2 separate regions of the Homo sapiens genome follow, and region 1 is linked to region 2. The links are contacts of gene promoters, found by promoter capture Hi-C in human tissues and cell types (Jung and others, 2019). All regions are on one chromosome and are shown on one strand. The core of a region is centred on a gene start or on the middle of the fragment in contact, and the rest is flanking DNA. Distances in the headings are between cores, read along the strand shown.

Region 1 (2,954 bases), core at 384-2,883, 62 kb after region 2:
GTTCCAGTTGTCATAAATAGCATTTATTTTATAGCCCATTCTTTTTCCATTGCTATGAAATAAATCTTTATTATATGTTAAGTTTAATATAGATCATGATCTAAATATAGGCATATAGATATACAAAATGCTTTATATTGGTCAGTTTTTTATTTTTCCCTATGTGTGTCATTATCTTATTGATTATCAATATACTGTGCTTTTATGTGGGGTTAAAAAAGTTTCCCATCATTATTCTAATGTTTCCAAAATAATGTTGTCTGTCTCTAGCCATGTAATACTCTAGATGAATTTTAGAATAATCTTTTCAACTTCCATTAAAAATTCCCTTCAGGTCTTATTAGAAGTACACTGAATTTTATTAATAAGGATTCATATTTTAAAATATAGTCTTCCTTTTCAGGAGTATAGTTCTCCACATATTCAGATATTCATTTTGTGTTCTATTATAGTTTCTTCTGATAGGTCTTACTCATTCTTTTATTTTGTCCCTCAGGTTAATTTCTAAGTATCACTTAGACTTTCTTGCCATTATCAATTGAAACCTTTTCTTCATTACATTTGTCTAATACAGAAAGATAATTAATACTTTTAGTTTTATAGCGCATCTGGCCACTGGTGAAATTGCCATAGGTTTTAAAAGATTTTCAAATAATTATCTTGAATTTTTTGGTACACAATCGTGCCACAAAAAAATGACATTTTCTTCTTTTTTAATGTTTATGCCTCCTGATGCTTTAGTTTTGCTTTGTTACTCACTCAGTCAACCATCTCAGCAATGTAGCTTAATATTGGTCATAGGGCTATCTTTGCCTTCTCTTTCCATGATATTGGTGGAAATAGGACTCTTACAGTCTATGTTTTATAGTCCTGCAATATTTGAATGTTGAGAATGAGGACTTCATAGTGTTTTAACCAGAAAAATTAATATATTCAAAGAACTAATCTTGCTTACATAGGCTATTTCTGGGAGTACTCTAATTTTAACTGGTATCCTTGGGCCAAAAGATGATAAAGCATCAGATCATATTAGCCAAAGAGAAATGCTTAAATAAACATTAGAAATGTTTTTCTGAAGATGAAAGAAAGTATTATCTGAATTCTGCAATTACCAAGGAGCCTTGATTAATTCTGTTGCTTAGTTTTGTTCTATCCCAACTACTACTACCATCTATGGACCTATGAGCAAGAGAGAATGCTGAAAGAGATAACTTCATTCATAGGGATTCCTTGTATGACAGCATTCTAATTCTAAGTAGAATCCAGCAACCTCTTCCCCGGGACAAAAAAGACAATAATAAGACTAAGGAGATGGTCAAGAAACAACCTCAGAATAATCTTTACAAAAGGAAATGAGAAGAACTCAAACAAATTAGGCCACATAGAAGTTCCTATGAGCACATGGAAAACCTTTAGTTTCTAATTTAGAAGACAGCTTGGCATCCTTTAACTTTTCTTTTGTTGAATTTTACTATCTGTTTCTATGTAGTTTCAGAATTAAATGTTCTTTCGAAGTATAATAGCAGTAAGATTTTTAAAATAGATTTGAGGTGGGGAAGAAGCTGTCTTGGTCAAACTGTCCTTTACATCTCTCCCATTGCTTCTCTAAACCCTATCCAGGAAGTCCAGAGACATGGAGACAAAGAATTATAGCAGCAGCACCTCAGGCTTCATCCTCCTGGGCCTCTCTTCCAACCCTAAGCTGCAGAAACCTCTCTTTGCCATCTTCCTCATCATGTACCTACTCACTGCGGTGGGGAATGTGCTCATCATCCTGGCCATCTACTCTGACCCCAGGCTCCACACCCCTATGTACTTTTTTCTCAGCAACTTGTCTTTCATGGATATCTGCTTCACAACAGTCATAGTGCCTAAGATGCTGGTGAATTTTCTATCAGAGACAAAGATTATCTCTTATGTGGGCTGCCTGATCCAGATGTACTTCTTCATGGCATTTGGGAACACTGACAGCTACCTGCTGGCCTCTATGGCCATCGACCGGCTGGTGGCCATCTGCAACCCCTTACACTATGATGTGGTTATGAAACCATGGCATTGCCTACTCATGCTATTGGGTTCTTGCAGCATCTCCCACCTACATTCCCTGTTCCGCGTGCTACTTATGTCTCGCTTGTCTTTCTGTGCCTCTCACATCATTAAGCACTTTTTCTGTGACACCCAGCCTGTGCTAAAGCTCTCCTGCTCTGACACATCCTCCAGCCAGATGGTGGTGATGACTGAGACCTTAGCTGTCATTGTGACCCCCTTCCTGTGTACCATCTTCTCCTACCTGCAAATCATCGTCACTGTGCTCAGAATCCCCTCTGCAGCCGGGAAGTGGAAGGCCTTCTCTACCTGTGGCTCCCACCTCACTGTAGTGGTCCTGTTCTATGGGAGTGTCATCTATGTCTATTTTAGGCCTCTGTCCATGTACTCAGTGATGAAGGGCCGGGTAGCCACAGTTATGTACACAGTAGTGACACCCATGCTGAACCCTTTCATCTACAGCCTGAGGAACAAAGATATGAAAAGGGGTTTGAAGAAATTAAGACACAGAATTTACTCATAGAAAGAACAAAATGTTGGCATGTCAAAATCAGGACATGACCTAAAAGATTATTATCAGTTTATCCTCCCTTCCTAACCCTTTTCCACATGGCATTCAAAGAGGTCATGAAAAGTGGTGTTGGATATCAGTAAGAGAATTAACCTGGGAGCAAAACACTCAGTTTCTTTATATATATATATATATATATGTATACACACACACACATATATATATACACACATACTTTAAGTTCTGGGATACATGTGCAGAACGTGCAGGTTCATTACATAGGTATACACGTGCCATGGTGGTTTGCTGCACCCATCAACCTGTCATCTACATTAGGTATTTCTCCTAATGCAATCCTTCTCCTAGCTCCCCACCCCCTGGCAGGCCCCAGTGTGTG
Region 2 (3,092 bases), core at 362-2,861:
TATATTTTAAAGTTCTAAGAACAGTGTCTAGCAAGGGACTGCTTCTAACACTGGGAGATGGGAAAGTGACTAGTGGCATAAGATGTTCTAGTTGTTTTAGCTTGATGATCAACGAATTCCGAGAAAACGTTCTCCAACCCCACATTCTGTCTTTCAATGTAAGCAGCACAGCGGTGAGGCTCAGGAAGTCTGTCACTTGAGCCAGCCTCACACAGGTGGGGTCTTTTTCACCAAAAGGAGTTAGGTCAGGAGGGTGATTTCTGAGAGAGAGAGAAGGCACTGACACTCCCCAGGCTCCTTGGGGAAGAAACTCCAAAACCGTAATAGTTCTTGGCTTGTTTTCTGCTGTCTTCTCCATCTGAACTCCAGGGACTTCTTGATGATCTCAAAGGATGCTCCCTTGACAGAGGGTGGGGTCTATGAGTGTCTTTAATCTCTTCAGCATGTGGGAGGCCCAGAGGAGGAAGAGAGGAAAATCTTCAGCTTCATGAGGGTTGAAAGCTTGTCTAGAATCAGGTGCCTTCTCTGTGTGGTTTTTTGGGGAAGCATATATATAACTGAGACTGGAATTGGGAAAAGAATTACACCAACACAGACAAGCATGCACTAACAATGACGATTTTAGCATTTAGGGGCTGGATAACAAAAATGAGGTTTATGTTACATTAAAAGAAATGTTGGCCGGGTGCGGTGACTAATGCCTGTAATCCCACCACTTTGGAAGGCCAAGGTGGGCGGATCACTTGAGATCAGGAGTTCGTGACCAGCCTGGCCAACATGGTGAAACCCCATCTCTACTAAAAATACAAAAATTAGCTGGGTGTGGTGGCACAAGCCTGTAATCCCAGCTACTCAGGAGGCTAAGGGGGGAGAATCGCTTGAACCCAGGAGGCAGAGGTTGCAGTGAGCTAAGATTGTGCCACTGCACTCCAGCCTGGGTGACAAAGCAAGACCTTGTCTCAAAAAAAAAAAAATAAGGAAAAGAAATGTTTTTACTATCCTGTTATTTCTGTCTATCTTTTGCCTCTTCATACCTATCCTTTCACTCAAATAAGGTTTCACTAAAAAATGAGGGAAATGGAGTAACTGTTGGGTAATCTCATATTTCAATGTCTTTTTACATGATTGCCAGCCTCCAGAATAACTGATGCAGACAGAAGTATCCGAACTAAGGGAAATCATTATTCCATCAGCTGGAAATTGAGAGATGAAACTTTTTTAAACCTGTCATAAACTAATTACTGAAAACCGTGAATACGATAAATATATACAGAAAAAGAAGAGAATAATTTCTCCAGGATTCCCCTCCTCTCCTTCTGGGAATTCTCTTGCACTCACTCCTTCCTCTTGCCCTATATCTCTTCTTTTCTCTTTTTCCCATTTCTGTTTCCCTGTAATTTGTTTCTTTATAGCAGGCAACTGAGATTAAAATATATATTAATTTCTAAATATCCCACATTAATGGAAAGAAACCACAATCCAGATAATTGTAATGTTTTAAATTTTTTCTTTGCTGATAAGAAGAATAAAAGGAGAAATTTTGGACAGATTGTATCAGATGTTGGAAGAATCTGTTACAGTGTTAGTTTATCTTTAGGTGAACCCACAACTATGGGAAGAAATAACCTAACAAGACCCTCTGAATTCATCCTCCTTGGACTCTCCTCTCGACCTGAGGATCAGAAGCCGCTCTTTGCTGTGTTCCTCCCCATCTACCTTATCACAGTGATAGGAAACCTGCTTATCATCCTGGCCATCCGCTCAGACACTCGTCTCCAGACGCCCATGTACTTCTTTCTAAGCATCCTGTCTTTTGTTGACATTTGCTATGTGACAGTCATTATCCCTAAGATGCTGGTGAACTTCTTATCAGAGACAAAGACCATCTCTTACAGTGAGTGTCTGACCCAGATGTACTTTTTCTTAGCCTTTGGAAACACAGACAGTTACCTGCTAGCAGCCATGGCCATTGACCGCTATGTGGCCATATGTAATCCCTTCCACTACATCACCATTATGAGTCACAGATGCTGTGTCCTGCTTCTGGTTCTCTCCTTCTGCATTCCACATTTTCACTCCCTCCTGCACATTCTTCTGACTAATCAGCTCATCTTCTGTGCCTCAAATGTCATCCATCACTTTTTCTGCGATGATCAACCAGTGCTAAAATTGTCCTGTTCCTCCCATTTTGTCAAAGAAATCACAGTAATGACAGAAGGCTTGGCTGTCATAATGACCCCGTTTTCATGCATCATCATCTCTTATTTAAGAATCCTCATCACTGTTCTGAAGATTCCTTCAGCTGCTGGAAAGCGTAAAGCATTTTCTACCTGTGGCTCTCATCTCACAGTGGTGACCCTGTTTTATGGAAGCATTAGCTATCTCTATTTTCAGCCCCTGTCCAACTATACTGTCAAGGATCAAATAGCAACAATTATCTACACCGTACTGACTCCTATGCTAAATCCATTTATCTATAGTCTGAGGAACAAAGACATGAAGCAGGGTTTGGCAAAGTTGATGCACAGGATGAAATGTCAGTAAAAGACCTAAGGTCTTAAGAGAATACCACAGATCTCTTGCCCTGGACTATAGGTTATTAATGGGTATGTGATTCTGAAATGATTATTAGATTCTGAAAGGATAGTACCTTCAATGATGGTGTTTCATTCCTTACAGAAGAATGTTTATTGCATGTATTGAAGCTACTCCTGAATATAATGCCTACAAACTAAGTTGGATCACTGTAATCTCCTGAGTATCCCTATTCATGCAGCTGGGTTTTCTTGTATAGTAATGTAAAGCTGCTTGAATGTCTTTGAGCTACTCTGTGTGTGTGTGCGTGCGTGTGTGCATGTGTGTGTGTATGTGTGTGTGTGTCGCTTCATCATATTAGCCCAGGGGCTCCTCAATAACGAGGTCTCTCTCTTTCTCCCATTATAAATGTCAGAACTGTGACTCCTTCCTCTGCATTTCCTCAAAGATTAAAGCCTGGCTTCTATAGTTGTCATAGTCTCAACAAATAAAATCATCCCACTAGATAACTCTTAGTGAATCAGTGCCAGGTCAGGTTCCTAAGAGTATGGCATCTC

Evidence for each region. Contacts are between HindIII fragments. The study calls those that stand out against the background at their distance.
Region 1: a contact is called between the fragment with the promoter of OR1L4 here and the fragment with the promoter of OR1L1 in region 2, in 1 of the 25 tissues and cell types used here (mesendoderm cells).

Annotation. Positions count from the first base shown.
Region 1 is chr9:122,722,357-122,725,310 of GRCh38, forward strand. It overlaps OR1L4 (olfactory receptor family 1 subfamily L member 4), which reads left to right and starts at 1,634. Exons shown (of 1, transcript NM_001005235.1): 1 at 1,634-2,569. The coding sequence starts at 1,634. The coding sequence ends at 2,569. The HindIII fragment of the contact is 15,967 bases long and covers 1-2,954 here.
Region 2 is chr9:122,660,105-122,663,196 of GRCh38, forward strand. It overlaps OR1L1 (olfactory receptor family 1 subfamily L member 1), which reads left to right and starts at 1,612. Exons shown (of 1, transcript NM_001005236.3): 1 at 1,612-2,544. The coding sequence starts at 1,612. The coding sequence ends at 2,544. The HindIII fragment of the contact is 8,013 bases long and covers 1-3,092 here.